Regions from separate parts of the Homo sapiens genome. Here all the other regions are linked to region 5. The links are contacts of gene promoters, found by promoter capture Hi-C in human tissues and cell types (Jung and others, 2019). All regions are on one chromosome and are shown on one strand. Each heading gives the region's core, a stretch centred on a gene start or on the middle of the fragment in contact. The rest is flanking DNA. Distances are from core to core; before and after follow the strand shown. Region 1 overlaps LPP (LIM domain containing preferred translocation partner in lipoma). Region 2 overlaps LPP (LIM domain containing preferred translocation partner in lipoma). Region 3 overlaps LPP (LIM domain containing preferred translocation partner in lipoma). Region 4 overlaps LPP (LIM domain containing preferred translocation partner in lipoma). Region 5 holds the start of LPP (LIM domain containing preferred translocation partner in lipoma). Region 6 overlaps LPP (LIM domain containing preferred translocation partner in lipoma).

The links. The method cuts DNA at HindIII sites, captures the fragments that hold promoters and counts their contacts. A contact is called where the count stands out against the background at its distance.
Region 1: a contact is called between a fragment that was not itself captured here and the fragment with the promoter of LPP in region 5, in 1 of the 25 tissues and cell types used here (bladder).
Region 2: a contact is called between a fragment that was not itself captured here and the fragment with the promoter of LPP in region 5, in 2 of the 25 tissues and cell types used here (H1 embryonic stem cells and liver).
Region 3: a fragment that was not itself captured here is called in contact with the fragment with the promoter of LPP in region 5 in 2 of the 25 tissues and cell types used here (dorsolateral prefrontal cortex and liver).
Region 4: a fragment that was not itself captured here is called in contact with the fragment with the promoter of LPP in region 5 in 1 of the 25 tissues and cell types used here (dorsolateral prefrontal cortex).
Region 6: a contact is called between a fragment that was not itself captured here and the fragment with the promoter of LPP in region 5, in 2 of the 25 tissues and cell types used here (small bowel and spleen).

What each region holds. Positions count from the first base shown.
Region 1 is chr3:188,435,380-188,438,568 of GRCh38, reverse strand. The region is part of intron 4 of LPP (LIM domain containing preferred translocation partner in lipoma); the gene reads right to left. Among named protein-coding and RNA genes, the nearest start is that of LPP-AS1, 130 kb to the left of the region's middle. The HindIII fragment of the contact is 8,829 bases long and covers 1-3,189 here.
Region 2 is chr3:188,482,250-188,485,457 of GRCh38, reverse strand. LPP (LIM domain containing preferred translocation partner in lipoma) reads right to left here. Exons shown (of 12, transcript NM_001375462.1): 5 at 754-866. Among named protein-coding and RNA genes, the nearest start is that of LPP-AS1, 85 kb to the left of the region's middle. The HindIII fragment of the contact is 5,601 bases long and covers 1-3,208 here.
Region 3 is chr3:188,599,925-188,602,779 of GRCh38, reverse strand. All of the region lies in intron 6 of LPP (LIM domain containing preferred translocation partner in lipoma), which reads right to left. Among named protein-coding and RNA genes, the nearest start is that of LPP-AS1, 33 kb to the right of the region's middle. The HindIII fragment of the contact is 4,829 bases long and covers 1-2,855 here.
Region 4 is chr3:188,527,170-188,530,484 of GRCh38, reverse strand. All of the region lies in intron 6 of LPP (LIM domain containing preferred translocation partner in lipoma), which reads right to left. Among named protein-coding and RNA genes, the nearest start is that of LPP-AS1, 40 kb to the left of the region's middle. The HindIII fragment of the contact is 4,035 bases long and covers 1-3,315 here.
Region 5 is chr3:188,152,698-188,155,644 of GRCh38, reverse strand. It overlaps LPP (LIM domain containing preferred translocation partner in lipoma), which reads right to left and starts at 1,488. Exons shown (of 12, transcript NM_001375462.1): 1 at 1,393-1,488. LPP-AS2 (LPP antisense RNA 2) reads left to right here and starts at 1,557. Exons shown (of 1, transcript NR_036497.1): 1 at 1,557-2,947. RefSeq lists enhancers at 1-253, 2,053-2,947 and a silencer at 1,281-1,620. The HindIII fragment of the contact is 14,765 bases long and covers 1-2,947 here.
Region 6 is chr3:188,452,978-188,456,209 of GRCh38, reverse strand. All of the region lies in intron 4 of LPP (LIM domain containing preferred translocation partner in lipoma), which reads right to left. Among named protein-coding and RNA genes, the nearest start is that of LPP-AS1, 110 kb to the left of the region's middle. The HindIII fragment of the contact is 9,022 bases long and covers 1-3,232 here.

The sequences.
Region 1 (3,189 bases), core at 389-2,888, 280 kb before region 5:
AGTTACTACACGTGTAAGTAAGCTCTGGGGCCAGGTTGCCTGGGTAGTACTACTTAATATGGGACTCAAAGCAAGTTATTTCACTGGTTGGGGCCTCAGTTTCCTCATCCAGAAAATGGATATTAATAATAGCACTACCTCATAATATTATGAGGATTAAATGAGACTGTGTGTGTGTGTGTGTGTGTGTGTGTGTGTGTGTGTGTGTGTGTGTAATGCATGGAATAGTGTCTGGAACACAACACCTTAAAATGTTTTACTAGTATTCTCATTATAATTACCACAGCTACTCTAAGATTGGGCTTTTTCATTAGTCACAGGAATATAATCAGTTCCTCAGTTACACAGCTATGACTGGTCATACATTCTAACCAACCTGTCTGTTTGGTCAGTTATGATCCATCACCATGCTTAGCCATCCTGACTGCAATGAAACGACATGATCCAGTCCAAAAGGATATTATATCCAGGCAGTCTAGTTGGGCCACAACTGATTTATCTCCATTGCCTATTTAAATTCAGTGAGTGTGGCCAAGAAAAATAGCCTGTCCATCCTGTCCCTACCCACCTTATACAAATAAATATCTTCCAACTTAACCAGTTACAAATGTCCTTTTGGCCCCCAAGTGCTTCGGCAAAGCTATCACACTTACTGCAGAATGGAATTTAATTAAAGGGATACATAGTAAATACCAATTCATAGAAGCTAGTAATAGCATGCTCCCAATTTCTTCAACATGTCTAGCTTCTCAAAAAGCTATACCCATGAAGACCTTCATTATGTTCTCTAACATAAAAACACTTAAAGCAGTGAAATAACACAAACGACCAGTAATATGGCAATAGTTCAATAAATTCTGGGATGCTTACTTCAAGAACTATAATGCCATTGCTAAATATGATGGTGGGGAATTCTTATTCTGTAGTATTAAGTGAAAAAAATGCAAAATTATGTCTATCTTTAGTTACATATTATGAAAACTATAAACATATATTGGCAAAGACTAAAAGAGTACAGAGAAAATGGAGTTGATGTGTTAGAGAGACAGAATTGTAGGTTTGTTTTTTAAACAAATTTGCTTTCTTGTTATAAAGTCATTTGTGTACATATTTAAGTGTGTGGAATATCTTTAAACTTACCTGAAGTCCACAAAGAACAAAAATATCCAAGAAGGATTTATGTGATTGAAACATATTAGCAAACATCAAGTGCATATCAAATTATCCTAATAGCAGGAACTTTTCCTGTTGAAGGATACACAAGGCATTACTTAGCATATCATTCAAATGCACGTACTTTGGAACGGAAGCTCTAGTATCCTCCTAGATCCATTTAGGCCTGAATCCTACAGAAAAAGCACTGTACCTAAGTCTCATTTATCAGCAGCATCAAGTGTTATTTAGGAAAGTTGCTCACATAAAAGATCATCATCTTAATTTCTAATTATTACCATGGTAAGCAGCTGTATAAATGGCTAAATAAGGTATGGTTCTTAATTCCAAGGAATTTACATCTTTAACTCACACTGTGGCTCTAGGCTCCAGGCTGAAAGGTTGGCAGAGTCTTTACTCTTTTCCTCTCTGATCCCCTGGATCATCCCTACTGCACCTCTGAAAACTGTTGCTCTGTGCACCTCATGTCCTACCCCCCATCGAAGTCGCCTGTCTCCATTAAAGCTGGCCGTGCCACCCCACACCCCAACCCCACTCTGCCTGCTCACCATCCCACTACCCATCTTCACCCACAGACAATCTTACCTACACAAACTTTAAAGCCCATCTACTTTTGCCCTTGTAGGCCTTAAAATATATATTCTTTTTCAAAATTCATACTGAAATTCAAGTCTGGGCCTACCACTATACACCTAATTATTTTCTAATTGGTTTTCTATTTTTAAAATCTCACCAAAAGCCCTTTTTGGCCTTTTGCATAGAAATCCCAGGCCTTACATTTTTGCTTTTGTTTTCTCCCAAGGCAATTAACAGTACTGAACAGATATCGGGTCCTAAGTAAATATATGCTTACACAAACATTATTTATACATAGAAAATGTTGAAAATAAACAGGAGTTGTTCACGAAATGCAAACATGTTTCTCAAGTAATATCTGCACTGTCCATTGAGATGATTAGAACACAGAATCTAGGAAATGTTAAATCTGGGAATCAAAGATCTGATTCTGATGTTGACACCCTAAGCACTAGTGGCTCCGTTTCTTTTAGCCTCAGTTTCTTCGTGTAAAATAAAATTTACTAAAACTGATAACGTCAATTATATATCAGCCATAACCTTAAGATGATCCACCTTATCTCCCTTGGGTCAGAAGTCAGGAGCCCTGTTATTCTGGTATTGGTATCACAACACTATAGTCAGTGGTACTAGGTGACATTACCTCTAGATATTTCATTTTAGTAATCTACACAATGGAAGAGTAACTCTTGCCATTTACATATCCACGAGTTCCAAGGATCAAATAAAGTAATGTGTGTGCTATGAATGTAAAACACCATATTATAATGAAAAATTGCATTGGCTCCTGTTATTGTTAATATTAGGTTTGGGACAGAGGAAGAATGGAAGTTCAAATGGTGGGAATGTTGCTTTAGAAGCGATCTATGGCAAGGAAACAGGTCAGGAAATGCAGCTGGAGAAAGCCATATGCCTTTTGTCTCTTTAGGACAGCAGGAAAGCTGTAGAGAAAAGGAAGACTGAGTGAGATGTGCAAGTGCCTCAAGCTTCAAGGAAAGGGACAAAATGGAAGCAACATTACAAACACAACATCCTCAGATTAATTCAGGTTTATGCACTTATTTCCTGTAACTGATGTAATAAACAAACCTTAGTCTGATTCAGAAAGTGACATCACAGAGATTATTTCCAATATCCCCAAAAATGTGGGGTATTTCCATGGTTTATAAATTTCTAAAGGTAAAATCAAACTAAATAAAGCCTGCATTAAGAAAAAAGAAAGAAAAAGAAACATATTCAGATATTATTTATCCTGAAAAGAAAACAGGTATTAATTTATATTTCCTTATTTACTTTCCCCCTCCCCCCAACAGAGAAACAAATTATATAACACCTTGTGTTTATATAAACGTGTGTCTCCAAGTAGGAGGTAGTACTGTACAAATACTATTTAATCAAACCTCACCTTATCACTAAATGTGGGCAATGGATCATTATTAA
Region 2 (3,208 bases), core at 415-2,914, 330 kb before region 5:
TTTTTTCTTCAATGTATCTATGCGAACATAGTCACACCTAAAACTATAACAATAATTCTATCACTTTATTAGATTTTCTTCTTGACATAAAGCACTTCTTCAGCTTAAATGGTGGCAGCTTTCGGCAGTTACCGATGATCACAGTCTGAGAACCACTTCTAATGTCACATCTGATCCCAGCCCCGAGTTACTTTGCAATTACCACTCGCTGGAACCCAAGAGTTCTATATAATTGATAAGTATGATGTGCACCCTTGAACTTACCCAGAAGAGAAAATCCTAAGGATATTTGATGTTGCTTTTGCTAGAAAAATGTTGCTGACCAAAAGGATCCACATTAACCAACTACAGCCTTAAAATGTCAGCCTTACTCACTTGAATGCAATGTTTGAAGATAGAGAACATAGCAATAAAAAGACATGGCTGTATGTCCTCCAAAATAACAAGGAAATGTTGCCTTCTCAAATAGTATTCCTAAAAAAAAAATGGCTTTGGGATCTGAAACAAAATTAGTAGGCAAAAGTATTTTGAGGGCTTCAGAGGGTAAGCCAGCAGAACTCTGGGAAGCTTGAGTTGGGTATGTTGCATTAAAGTACCTTAGATCTTCATAAGTTGTAAAGCTCTCAATAGGCTCTGGATAAATGTTTATCCAGCACAGAAACACTCATGAAATTCATGAGCTCCCTAGGATGGCTTATAAACATGACTTTAACTTCAGCTCTTACCTAACATGACTTTAACTTCAGCTCTTACCTGTACTTTGAAAGCCTCTTCATCAAGAGGTGGTGGAGGAGGAAAGTTTCCAGAGATAGATGGAAGGGCACTGGAATCATCTAGAGGTGGAGGTGGGGGTGGAAGAAAATCACCTACAGAAAAGAAGTAAACAACATGAAGTTAATAAGGATGCAACGTTATAGTACTCGTGATATATTTGCTGGCATTTTACTTTTTTATAATTGGCTTTGACACATAATTTTGTGTTGTATAGCAATTATTCCCCATCTTAGTTTAATTAGTAGCCTTAATTAGTAGTCTTAACTTTCAGAAGAAAGAGTATCGGATTTGATATTTAGAAATGGTATAAAAGCTAGTCTAGAGGGGTCAATATATTAAGCAAAGCGAAGAATGAGCTTGGGTGGGAGATAGAGTTACTGAATTTTATACACCTTGGTGCTTGCCCTCAATACATTTTCAATCAAATAGAGGAGGAAGAAAAATTGTACAAAACTAAAGATAACACAAGGTGTAATTTATAAAGATGCATGAATAACCTCTGGAAATTAAGATAAAGTGGAGGATCATGGAAGTCTCAGTGGATCATATAATTTTCCTGAAACATGATGTAGAAGGTACGTCCATCCTTGGTAGAGAGACAGGAGAATGTAGGCATGGCGATCAGAAAGTTCAGAGCATAGAGAATAAAAAGCAAGTCATGACATAGGAAAAACATGGGACACAGGAATGTAAAATAATGCCAGTGAGTTATAAAGATTAGATATGCGATAAAATTAAGGTTTTTACATGTTGCACATCAAAAAAAGGGTTTGAATTTTATCATGCATGCAGCAGAGATCCACCAAGGATTTCTGAGAAAGAAACACTTGGTTACAATACGATTTACTAAAGACTAATGTAAAAGTCCATGCAGGACAGATTAGGAGAAATGAATAAGAAACACCCAATTTAGAAATCTATACATAATCCAGGCAAGAAGTAATGAGACTTTGGGATACCGAGAAAAACCTAGCATCTCTTACCAACAAGAGAAGCACACTGCTGTCAGAGTTATTGAGGGAGTGAACCTGATCTCTGTGATCTAAGTTATACACATATATCCAAGAGCTTTATGGTTCCTGGAATGAAACCTTTTTAAATAGTCTGCAAAAAACTGTATTGGGGAAACAGAAACTTCTACCTTTTAACCTGTTCTTTATTTGTTATTTTCCTATTAAAAATAATGTTTTTGATGTGTTGGAGAAGAGATCTTTTCTATTTATGGAGGAGTAGCCTTTCCTTGCATTTTAGTTGCTCAACACTTTGTGGGTTAGGGCAGCAGTCTCCATCATTAAGTGAGTTGCTTTTGGATATTATCAAAACATCACAGTTTAGGCCCTGAGAAATAGAAGTATAAGAATGGAAGAGTGAGCACATTAGAATGACTGTGAGTAGGTTTTGTTGTTCTGATACACCTTTGAAATGGTTCAGTTTGCCTCTATTTGCCTTATAAATAACAGTCTTAGAATTCAAAGTGTAGCTAAGCCAAGAACTGTCAGGTCTAGCCCCAAGCCAAATTCAGACTGCTAAGCAATCAAAAGCACTATCTCTCGAGTACTCCGCTTACTAGACTCGCACCATGCCAGGCAGTTTGCTAAGATTTTCATACACTGCCACCGAATCATACAACAACCCTTAAAGCTGATGGTTCTCAAACTTTAGAGTTCATCAATATCTCTGGAATGTCTTTTTAAAATACAGATTTTTGGGTCCTGGATCCAGAGATTCTGATTCAGTAGGTCTGGGGAGAACTCCAACCATCTTCATTTCTAATAAATCCCTGTGTGATCGATGCCTTTGGGTCTGACAGCACACTTTAATAACCACTGCATGTTGTTACTACTTTAGACCCACAGGATAAGAAATGTTCAATAACTTACAACATAAAGAAAATTTCTACTCCTCTTATTCTCTGGGTGCACAAATCTGTGGAAATAATTTGTACATATCCTTATGACAATTATAAATCCCATAAATCTGTATGCATTCCATTCAGTAGTTTTAAACATTGGTTAAATACCAGAATCACCAAAGAAACACATTCGAAAATGCTGATGTCCAAATTCCATCTCACAGCAATTCAATCAGAATCTTGGGGATAGAAGACAGGGAGTGAGGGGGTCAGGCACCAGGACACCTATAAAACCTAAGGGATTCGAACCTGCAGCCAGGATTGAGAAACTTTCATTTGGCCACAGACTGCATGAAAAAATATTTCATATCTGTTAATTAAAAAGAACTGTCAAGAAGTTTTTTACTGCCTTTAAAGGTCATATGTATGAAAACAGTGCTCACAATGAGAGCTTAGGCAATGAGGCAAAAAAGGTTTAGGTTGCTGTTCACAACCTAATTTCCAAGTTCAAATGTTCTATCTGAATCTATGTTGTATGAGTCTGTTCTCTCACTGCTATAAATAACTGCCTGAGAATGGGCA
Region 3 (2,855 bases), core at 94-2,593, 450 kb before region 5:
AACAACAAAGGAGGGGAAATGCTAAGTTACTCTTCTCCTTTTTTTTTTTTTAATAAATAATCTTTCTCTTCAAATAAAAAAATATTTCTATATCACTCAGGAGAAAAAAAAAGAGCTTCACTGGGGTCGAGGTACCTATAAAAGAAGATACTCTGACTCTCAAAAATCCAGTGATTCCAAGAGTAAATGTGCAATATTCAGAGTTTTATTGCCCAAGAAGAGCTTGGTCTCATTATTAGGGATTCATATCAGGTAGGCACTTAATAAATAATGGCTGGATAAATAAATATAATTGGTTTCTGAGTTTGTACAATGAGCAAAAATGGAAACACAGCTAACCTATTTCAGTTATAATGAAATCCCTAATTTGCTGCTTCTTTTGGCTCTATGCAAAAATTACATCATCATTTTATCCTAACCATGACTAGAAGAATAACTAAATTTGCTTTCTTGAGTCATCTCACTAATTATCTTCCATAATTCAGGGTAAGTACCCATATCTCCATTCCTCATCCAACCAGGCCACTTACACTATCCACTTGATAGATGACCCCATGAGTTGGAAAACAACCTAACAGATTAAGAATGTCATATATATATATAATATATATATATTATATATATATTATATATATATGAGATTAAGAATGCTATATATATGTGTGTGTGTGTATATGTATATGTGTGTGTATATATATATATATATATATTTGAGATAGAGTCTTGCTCTGTCACCCAGGCTGGAGTGCAGTGGCACTATCTCAGCTCACTGCAACCTCTGCCTCGCGTGTTCAAGGAATTCTTGTGTCAAAGCCTCTCAAATAGCTGGGATTATAGGCACCCACCACCACGCCAGCTCATTTTGTGTTTTTAGTAAAGATGGGGTTTTCACTGTGTTGTCCAGGCTGGTCTGGAACTCCTGACCTCAAGTGATCCATCTGCCTTGGCCTCCCAAAATGTTGGGATTACAGGCGTGAGCCACCACACCTGGCCAAGAGTGCGATATATAAACATAATACCACACATTTAGAAAAGCATTTCTTAAATCTGACTGCACAACAGAATCATTTAGGGCTTTTTAAATGCAAGTTATTGTAGATAAACCCACTCAACAGAGTGAAATCTGGAAATTCAAAAGGGAAGGGGCAGGTGATTGTCAGTTAAAACCAGAGTTCAAAACTACTTTTAGATACTGTTGCTAAAGCCGAACAGGAAATCCCACTTGGAATTAGGGGCTATGAGTGACATAATGGTGTGACTCCACTTGTCTTAGAAGGAAAACTGATTATATAATTTAGATTTAGGGACGAAGTTAATGTTTGTTTCTATAAAATTTTTATGGGAAATCAGTGGTGTAATTTGGTGATATGTAACAAAAGCCCTAATAAAGTTTATACTTTTTAAACCCATAGTTTCATTTCTTAAAATTTAGCCTATGGAAATGACCAGAGAGCATAAATGTTTAGTTTCAAGAAGCTCCGTGTTAATAGTGTACTTTATAAAACTAAAAGATAATGGAAAATTTAAATAATCAATACATGAGGATTGTTTATATACATTACAGTATAGTCATATAATAGAATACTACACAGTCATTAAAACAATGCCATAAAAATATTTCAAAATATATCAATAATCTGGCAATTCAACTTCTGGGTAGATACCTAAAATAACTAAAAGCAGGAATGCAGCTATTTGTACAATCATGGTAATATGTTCATAGCAGTATTATTCACAATAGCCAAAGGAAGAAGCAATTCAAGTGTCCACTGATGGATGAATGGATAAATAAAATGTGATATATATATATACACACACACATCTATATCTATCTATATATCTATACATATATATACACACACACAATGTAATAAGAAAATTCTGATACATGCTACAACATAGATGAAGCTTGAAGAGATTAAGCTTGAAGCTTGAAGAAACAAGCCAGTTACAAAAACAAAAAACAAAAAACAAATACCATATGGTTCTACATATAGGAGGCCCCTAGAAGAGTCAAATTTATAAAGCTAGAAAGCAGAATGGTGATTGCCATGGGATGGGAGAAGGAAGAATGTAGCTAGTGCATTATTGTTTAATGGATATGTCATTTCAGTTTGAATAGATACAGTTCTGCTGGTGATGGTTGCACAACAATGTAAATGTACTTAGTGCCAGTGAATTATACGCTTAAAATTGGTTAGAATGTGAAATTCTGTATTATGTATATTTTACCACTATATAATAAAAATAATAATATGTATCAAAATTTTTCTTTGTTTTAAAATTCAGTTAGAAAATATTGTTTTATACCTGTTGATAAGTAATGCATCTATCTATATCTCATATATACATATGCATACATATATGGCTAGAAGGATCTATTCCCAACTGATAACATTGGTTATTTTAAAGGGGTTATTTTTGGCTATTCTATATACTTTTCCTATTTTGCTAAGTGTCTACCACATATTACTTTTTCACTCAAAGGAAGAAATATATATTATATAGGCATAGTATATATTATACATTTCTTATATATAAATGTATAAAAATAAATATATATTTAACATAATATATATCAGAAATATATACATTATTTTAAAAACCAAGCAAACACACTCTAAAATATTGTGGTATTCCAATGTCCATGTGTATGTACATACAAAAAAAGGAAGAAGCATAGCAGAAAATTAAAAATGGTTTCAATGTATTTTAAAAGGTTACAGTTTTACACTAGGTGAGGCAGTTAAGAGAAAATTTTGTTCTCCATTTTATGTTTTTGTTTATTTTCCACATTAAAGAAAAAAAGTAACCTTATAAATGAGGATAAATAGTAGCTGAAATCTGGTGATGAG
Region 4 (3,315 bases), core at 239-2,738, 370 kb before region 5:
GCTCTGATATTCTATGATCACATTTTGTCTGCAATTCACTCCAGGATCACCTCTGAACTTTTCACATCTGTTCTTCTAAAACTACTCCCTGACAAACACATTTAAAATGTTTAGAAATTTTGGTTTCAAACACTAATGTAATTTAATTGCATAAATCCATGCAGCGTCATGGAGGATTTTTTTATAAAGTAGCTGTAAGCTAAAGTCATTACTCCAAAATCACTGCAGCCAGTAACACTGTTGCTATCCCCCTGTAAATTTCTCTTTCTAACAATGAAAGCCCTTGGGCATCAAAAGGGCTACTTAGGTACTGCTAAGTAAGTTTGAGTTTTTCAGCAGTAATCCCATTTACACTTTACATACCCCATTAGACAAACTTATTCTTCAAATAATATTCACTTTCCACGTTCCTTGACTTTCTCACTCTTGTTATTCTTGCACCTTGAATCCCATGCCCTTCCCGTAACACTTTAAGCCAAGTTAGCTCAAATACTGCCTGCTCTACGCAGTCCTCTCTGACACTGAAAGGTATAAGGTACAATGTTGGTATTCCTGTATTTTATCTCCCAATAATTTTGACACGTGGTGATTTACGTGACAATTTAAGTAGCACATTGAAGCCCTTCTCCTGTGTCCCTTTGGGTTACTTACGGGCTTATCTCTTCTGTAAGATTAAATATCACTCTAAAGGAAAGACCTGTTGATACTAACCTTTAAATCTCCAATGACTGATCCAGAGGAGGATCTCATCAAATGTTAGGTGAATGAATCAATGAATCAATGAATATGTGGAATTAAGCCAAATTTCCAAAATCAATATAGGGATTAGTAAGTGAACATAACTAAAGTCAGAAAATTTGGGAGCGGAAAATACTCCCTAGAATAAAAGGAAGAAAATGCTTTAGCAAAACCTATTTTCAAGAGCTCACATTTTTCAGACTTGTTTTGAGAATGGAGCTCCTTGGAACCTCTTACCATATAAACATTCCACATATATATCATTTTTCCTAGACCATGAGTCAAAGCAGCCTTCCAAAGATGATAGAGACATGGATTCAAAAAAGCTTACAACACATGTTTGACTAATGAGAAATCACAGACCTACTAGCCTATTTTAAGTAGTCAGGTGATTCTATAGGTTTTGAAATTTGCTTTGAACAAAAATAGAAACATCAATGTTGGGCATTAACGGTCTACATTTCTAGGACTTTTCAAGTACCTTTCAATTATAACACAACACCGTCTACTATAGACATCATCTTCTCTTGGCACATACTTTTAATATTTTAAGTGTGTGATTATTGTTCTCACAGCCTATAATTATGTTAACCAATAAATATTAACACATCTAATTCAGTTCCACCAGAGGGAAGATAATTCAAAAGGATGAGATATATCTCCCAATTAACTCTTGCTTTGTTAAATCATAGTAATAGAAAAAAATTAGAATGGATCATCCTTTAATTTCTGAATGGAACAGGCACATCGAAAGTGTATTTTACCATAATTATGAACTTATTCTACTTAATGGCTATTACAATTAATTTTTTTTGACCTTCTGAATGTTTTTCTTTTTATGGGAAAGCAACATTCAAGGGACAGTGTCACTCAGATGACTGATGCCAGCTTTCATCGATGGTAAAATCATTACAAAAACAAAGACAAAACCTGACACCCTCAATCTGGTGTTTAGAACTTAAAATCAAGCACAAGCCAAAATTCAAAGTCCAGTTGTGCTCACGCAGTGCTCAAACATATGGCCAAGGAGAAACCATTAATCTTCTTGGTGAGTCTTAGTTTCATCATCCCTGAAAGGAGCACATCACGCACATCTCAGAACTGAGATATCTATATCTCACTCAAGTGAGAATATATGTGAAAGTGCTTCACAATCAGTACTGTCCAAATATCAGTGATGATGAATTTGTGTGCTCAGAAAGATTCCTCAAACAAAACGTAGCTGCAGAATAAACCTATTAAAATGCAATGGTTTATGAGAGGCATGTATAGACACAACCTTCAAGAATAAAGGTTGTATTAAACAATAGACCTCAAAGCATGATCTCCTCAGTGTCTATTAGGTTATAAGGATTTAGGGGAGGAAAAAAAAGATTTAAATGAAAGCTCCGTTTAAAAAAAAAGCTGGGGGGCGGGGAGGGGCAGGGCACGGTGGCTCATGCCTGTAACCCCAGCACTTTGGAAGGCCGAAGTGGGTCAGTCACGAGGTCAGGAGATTGAGACCATCCTTGCCAACATAGTGAAACCCCATCTCTACTAAAAATACAAAAAATTAGCTGGGCATGGTGGCACACACCTGTAAGTTTGGCTAAATGACCTGGAAGGCCCACTAAAGCTCTGATACTCTATGCTCACATTTTATCTGCAATTCACTACAGGAATATGTCTGAACTTTTCTCATCTGTTATTCTAAAACTACTCCCTGACAAACACTTTTAAAATGTTTAGAAATTTTAGTTTCAAATATTAAGGTAGTTCAATTGCATAAATCCATGCAGTGTCATGGAGGATTTTTTATAAAGTAGATGTAAGCTAAAGTCATTACCCCAAATTTACTGCAGCCAGAAACACTGTTGCTATCCTCCCTAAATTTGGGAGGCTGAGGCAGGAGAATGGCTTGAACCCAGGAGGCGGAGGTTGCAGTGAGCCGAGATCCCACCACTGCACTCCAGCCTGGGTGACAGAGTGAAAACCCATTACAAAAAAAAAAAAGGAAAGGGAGCACAAAAAAGCATTTGGGCATGATACTGCTGAGTCCAGTGGCAAAGTCAGTGGCCTTCCTGTCTTCAGATATGAGATGAGATTTGGGGCATTTGCTTGGGTGGAATCAAAAAAAATTGCTGAACATCAAGCAATGGTCAGAAAGTATGAAGAGTGGCTTGCTGGAGAACATTTTTCTGACCTGGGCTCATTTCCTGCATCATTCTAGAGTTGGTCTTATTTCCTATGTTCCTTTTTCAGAATGAATTTTAGATTTCCCTGATTGAGAACCTTCAAATAATCCCATTATCTACAAAAGACAGATTAAAATCATAATCTGGCATTTAAACGTGTCTACACGCTGTCTGTAGGAAACTACCAGACTTATATTCTCTCTTTTTTTTTTTTTTTTTTTTTTCAGATGGAGTCTCCCTCTGTCCCCAGGCTGGAGCGCAGTGGCGTGATCCTGGCTCACTGAAACCTCCGCCTCCCGGGTTCAAACGATTCTCCTGCCTCAGCCTCCCGAATAGCTGGGATTACAGGCGGGCGCCACCACGCACAGCTATTTTTTGTATTTTTAGTAGAGATGGGGTTTCA
Region 5 (2,947 bases), core at 239-2,738:
GGATGTCCTAACCCCCCACTGTCCACCATTATTGACCATAGGCTCTAGGTCTAGCACCCACCTTCGTGGACCTTTACCTATTCTTCTATCTATAAGAGTTGAGGAAGGGGGAGGATGGGAGAGGGAGCTAGATGCTTTGTAAAGGTGCCTAGCCACACTTTCCCCTTCTTCACTTTAGGCTTTCTTAAAATGCACATGTGCAGGGAAAGGTAAGCCATTAAGTCATCAACACCTTAGTGAGAGTGAATTTTACAGGAAAGGCAAGAGATTTAGTAAAAGGGGAAGGAATGGAAAGAGAAAGGGGACTGGAAACACAGTTAAGTGAGTTTGGTACTAGCAAAAGCCCCAGAGAAGACCCTGAGTTCTCGCTAGTTGTTTTGTGTTGGGGGAGGGAAAGCAGTGGATCCCTTCTAAGGGAAGGGAAGCCAGAGAGATTTTTCAGTTCTCCTACGACTCCGAGGTTCCAAAGACTCTGCCCTGTCCAAGCACCCAGGCACAATTCCACTGATTAGCTCATCTCATATCACAACCTCCCCCATCCCCAACCCCTTGCCTCCAACTAAAGAATATTTATACTTTCATCTCCATTTCCCACACTACTTAGTCTTCTCTGGCCCACGGTTCCCTCGAAGAGATGTCTTCCTCCAAGCCGCTAGCTGGCTTCAGGAAACTCCTCAACCTCCAAAAACCCCATTCAGTGCAGGACTCTCCAAAAGGCCGTCCCAGGGACCAGAAAATCAAACCCCCTCCCTGGAACTTCCTTTAACTTTGTCCACGCCTTTGCTCCAGCACTTAGCATTTTCTACCCTAGGCCAGGTTTGACTCCCAGGTTCAACTGAGTTCCTTGAGGGCAACGTCCAATACACCCAGCACAGGGTCTGCCACACACAGGGTGCTAGAGAAATGCTTAGAGAAAGGGAACTTAAGTCCGGAGCCAACTATTTGAATTATGGTCTGGCCTCTAGTAAATAACTTCCGGGCGACCCTCCTTCTCTCTGGGCCTCAGCTGCCCCAACTGTAAAATGGGAGGACTTGGAGGACTGGGTCTAGGCCCTTTCCGCTGTGACAACTGTGATTCCGCGAAAGCTCTAAGCGGATGGGCGTGGCCCCGCCCCCTGGGCGCCCAGAAAAGTCCGGGCAGGGGGCGCGCAAGGCTCCAACCCCGCCTAGCCTGGGGTCGACGCTTTTGGAAAAACTCTGGGTCCCCCTCCCCCATGGCGTGCACCCCGTGATTGGGCCGCGGCCGGCACTTCCGCACAGCGGGCCAGGCCAGAGCAGGGCGCGCGCCCTGCGCTCTTGCCACCCCGGAGGCGCTCGCGCCGGGGGAGGGCTGGGGGTTCCCGAGGCGCCCGCGGGTGGAGGGTGAGGGGAAGGAAGGATTTGCAACAATACCTCAGGGAGGAGGCAGCCGGGGCAGCGGCGGTGGTGGTGGCGGCGGCGGCGGCGGCGGCGGCGGCTGGAGGCGGAGGCAGAGGCAGAGGAGGAGGTGCCCGGGCACTCCCCCTCCCATTGTCCCCAGCCCCGGACAGGCCCGGCCCCGCGCCCCACACTGGCCTCCTCGAGCGCGCCGCCCGCGCCCAGCGCCCCACGCCCCGCGCCCCGGGCCGTGCAGCCAGCCCTTACCTTGCAGCGCCCGGCTGTCTCCCGATCGCTAAAGCTACTTATCCCGGGAAAGCTCGCGCGGGACCCGGGAACGAACCCACAGACAAAAAGTGAAACTTCGGCAGGGCTGGAGCGGCTGCTGGTTGGTGCCTTTCCCCCTCCTTCCTCCCCACCGTCCCCACCCCCTCCCCTTGGTCTCCCGTGCGGTGCCCTGAGCGCTGGAGGCTGACGTCAGGGGCCTGAATTCCTGACTTTGCCTGCACGCATTTGTCCATGTAAGGTATGGGAAGGCGTGTGCCCGCGAAGCCGCCGCGCAGAGCTCGCCTGGCGGGGGAGGGGAAACCCGCAGCCGGCAGTGGCTTTGCCAAAAGGTGGGCGCACTGAGGGCATTGCATTTCCTGGGAGGAAGAGGAGGAGACGCGGGAATGCAGGGAGCTTGCAAAGGAGGAAGAGAAAGAGGGAGATGTGGAGACTTTGCCCCTGCTAGAGGAAGAGGAAGGAGACGTAGGAGGAAGCGGCCGCGTCAGGGGGCTCCTGGAAAATGGAAAAGCCTGCGTCTACTATTAAGGCGTCAAATTAGGGCACTGAGCTTGAGTGGAAGAGATCCAGCCATGAAATCCCCTTCCAAGATTTTCCTCGTGAGCCCCGCCCTGGATTCCCAGCAAGACTCAAAACTTACAAGGTGTCAGAGCTGGCAAAGACCAACTTCCAACCCGTCCGCTTGGCACGTGAGGAAACTGAAGCTCTCGGAAGAGAAATGACTTGTACAGGGTCGTCACTCAGCAGATCGAGGAGCGGGCCCAGGCGCTCTGCCTCCCACTTGGGTTCCCGCCTCCAGGAAGGGCCCTGGCTCCCTTTTAGCCCTGAGCCTTGAAGCAGGTTAGATGCCCGCGAGCTGTGCGGACCACCCAGTGATTTCTACTGCTCTTGGCCCAGAGCCAGTTCCTGGAAGGTCCTGGTTGACAGCGAGCCCTGAATATCAATGACAATCAGTTGCTTCAGGGCAACTTCCTCTGTCCTGTGCTCAAATAAATGAATCCCTGGAGTTTAACGTTTACTTCTGAGCCCCGCCCAGAAAGCTTGCTCTGTGCTTATAGCTTCAAAAAAGTCTGCGAACGAGATGAACTGGTTTGAATACAGACAAGCCTGTCATTGGAAGTTTTGAGTTGGATTTTTCTTTCCCCTCTGACATCTGTAAGGGTGAACGACGATGAGAACCACCACTTAACTGTGTTAGGGGATTATGACGCGCAGCAGCCATGGCCAGGAAAGCATTCCATACCCTGAGACTTCCTTTCCTTGCACTTCTCTCCTATTAATATCTAAAGTAATCCCTCACGTTAGC
Region 6 (3,232 bases), core at 554-3,053, 300 kb before region 5:
AATATGGTGTCAATAAACGCCAAATGAGGTCAGGCCCATTGGCTCACGCCTGTAATCGCAGTGGTTGGGGAGGCGAAAGCAAAGAATCATTTGAGCCCAGTGCCAACATGGACAACATAGCAAGATCCCATCTCTACAAAAAATAGAAAATTAGCCAGGTGTGGTGGGGCACACCAATAGTCCCAGCTACTCGAGAAGCTGTGACAGGAGGATTGTTTAAGATCAGGAGTTTGAGCGTGCAGTAAGCTATGACTGCACTAGTGCACTCAAGCCTGGGTGACAGCAAAATCCTGTCTCTAAAATAAACAAATAAAAAAATTTTTTTTTAAATGCCAAGTGAATGAATGAGCCATGAACAAAAATAGATTTACCGTTTTACAACCACATTTGACAATTACAGTTCTCTTTGTTCCCTAAGTAAAAAGACCCTCTGCAAAATTCTGAAAAAAACCAATATTCTCTTTATAGGGTAAGTACTGAGAGCTGGTTTTACCATATCTAGAATAGGTTACAGTCATTTTTTGCCCAAAAATATTCACCAACATTGCCCTTCTGATTCTGTAATCAGTATATTATGATAGAGTTCATTTTAAAATCAAGTACCCATACCTACTGTTTTCAATCACAGTCTCTGTCTCGCAGAGAGCAAGTGACTGATAAAATAGCACTGACTCAAATGTCACACATGATATCAATTACTTTGCCAATCAAGGAAATTAAGGATATGACTACACTTCTTCTGAGTGTGTTTTATTCACTCCAAACATTAATTAAACCCTATTATCAGGGATGTGTAAAACCTCGGCTTCAGCTTAAAAATAAATCACTTTCTCCTGGGTGTGCGCATATTCTATTTACATGAACCTTTTAATAATCTTTTTGGGAATAGAAGGCAGTGAATCTGGTCAGTACCTTCTCTTTTTTTAATCCTTGTTGGTGCTTTTTATGTGAGCACTTTGCTAGTCCCCAAATATTACTATTAATAATAGCCTTAAGACTTCATCAGGCTCTCAGCTAAAAATTTTTTCTCTGTAAACTGTCCAGAAACCATGCAACTTGACAAAATAGCACCTGTGTTATCTATTAAACTATCTCCCACTCTAATTGGCCCTAGAGCTATGATTCTATTCTAGCTCAGATCTTGCAAAGACAAACATAAAAGCACATATTAACAATGTATGTCATCTCACTTGTATAAAGGATGCTTCTCCAAATGCTCACTACACTAAGTTGGCTTTCGAATAACATTGTGAACACCTTCTAAAACTTTAGATAAGCAGGTAACTTGATGTGGTTTATTCTAGTCATGGCTTTGTGTCCCCACCCAAATCACATCTTGAATTATACTCCAATAATTCCCACGTGTTGTGGGAGGGATGCCGTGGGAGATCATGTGAATCATGGAGATGGTCCCCCCATACTGTTCTCATGGTAGTGAATAAGTTTCATGAGATCTGATGGGTTTATCAGGGGTTCCCGCTTTTGCTTCCTCCTCATTTTCTCTTGCTTCCGCCATGTAAGATGTGCCTTTCACCTCCCACCATGATTCTGAAGCCTCCCCCAGCCATGTGGAATTGTAAGTCCAATTAACCCTCTTCTTCTTCCCAGTCTCGGGTATGTCTTTATCAGCAGCGTGAAAATGAACTAATACATAGCTCATCCTTGCATAGAATGCATAAAACTGGAGTTGTTTTCCAATAATACAAATTACAATTTTACATCTGAATTCTTCCCAAGCAGGAAAGATTTAGCATTCAGTTTATCTCAAATCGTAAATTTAAAGTCTACAACAGAAAAATCCTTAAAAATATTTAAATCCTAAAACCTATAGAAATGAGATATGTTGGTTTTCCATGGATGAAAGTTACTGAGGAATATCATAGACCACACTTCTCAAATACCATCAACTGAGAAAGCCAGTAGTTTCAGGCTTATATTGTTAGCTCTTGCTTACCTACAGCATTGCACGGCAGTTACAAGCATAGGCTGTGATGCCACACTGCCTAAGCTGGTGTCCTGCCTGTCACCTGCTAGCTGCCTAACCTTGGACAAGTTACATAATCTTTCCATACCTCACTTCCTCATATGTAAAGTGGGAATAGTAACTGTACCTGCCTTGCAGAAATTTTATGACAGCCAAATTAAATAAATGCAAAATATGTCACACAGTGCCTAGGATATGCTAAGTATTCAAAAACATTACACCTTATTCAAGCACCCTGCCTTCAATCATACTACATAAGATAGACATATATGGAATGAGAAGAATGTAATAGGATAAAAAGAGTATGGCATTTTAGGTTAAAATGTGAGTTAGAATCTCCACAGTTCTACATGCTATATTTGTGGCCCAGAGCTGTTTAAACGAAGTCCCATCTCCTTATCTGTAGAATGCTAAGAAGCCTAACAGAAGTACCCACAAAATTAACAGGAACTCAGAGGAAATCAAAATAACTTTCAGCTAAAGAATCAGGGGAGACTTAATAGGGAAGGTACTATTTTGATAAATACTATAGAATAGATTTGTGGAAGTAGAAATATTTAAAATGTATTCTGGACTGAGAGAACCATTCAAGCAAAGACACAGAGGAAGGAAAGCATGGTGTGTTTTCAGAGAATTAGCACATGTTCTAACCTGGCCAGCAAAGAGATTGTAAAGGGAAGCAACTGGCGCTGAGGTGAGACAAGCAGATCCCGTCGGAAGGAGATCAGCATTTCCTGGCCGGATTGGGACTTATTCCCCCAGGCATTGTGAACACATTCAAGATTGTTATTGTCCATGGATAGGATCCGGTCGGTATCATACAAGGAGCTGAGCACAAGGTGAAGAGTGTTTAGAAACCCCAGGTCTACACTCCAGCCTGGGTGATCGGAGTGAGACCCTGTCTCAAACAAACAAAAAAGCCCAGTCCTACAGATAAAGGCGTCCTAGAGATAAAGGCTTCCAGAGTCCATTAAGCATCTAGCCTGTGAAAAGCCAAGGAATCAAGGGGGCACGATGCCAGGGTTGGCAAAGATGGGGAAGTAGATTCATACCTGTATGAATCCGGAACCTAAGGAAGGAAGAAAGAAAGAGTCAAAGAGAAATGACGTGACCAGGAAGTATCATAAACATTCAAGAGGAAGAGCAAGAGATAAAACCAAAGAACCCGAGAGAGGTTGGTCCACCTAAGAAGGCATCTCAAACAACCAGCTACAATCTGCTTTCTTCACACCAGTAAGAACCATGGTC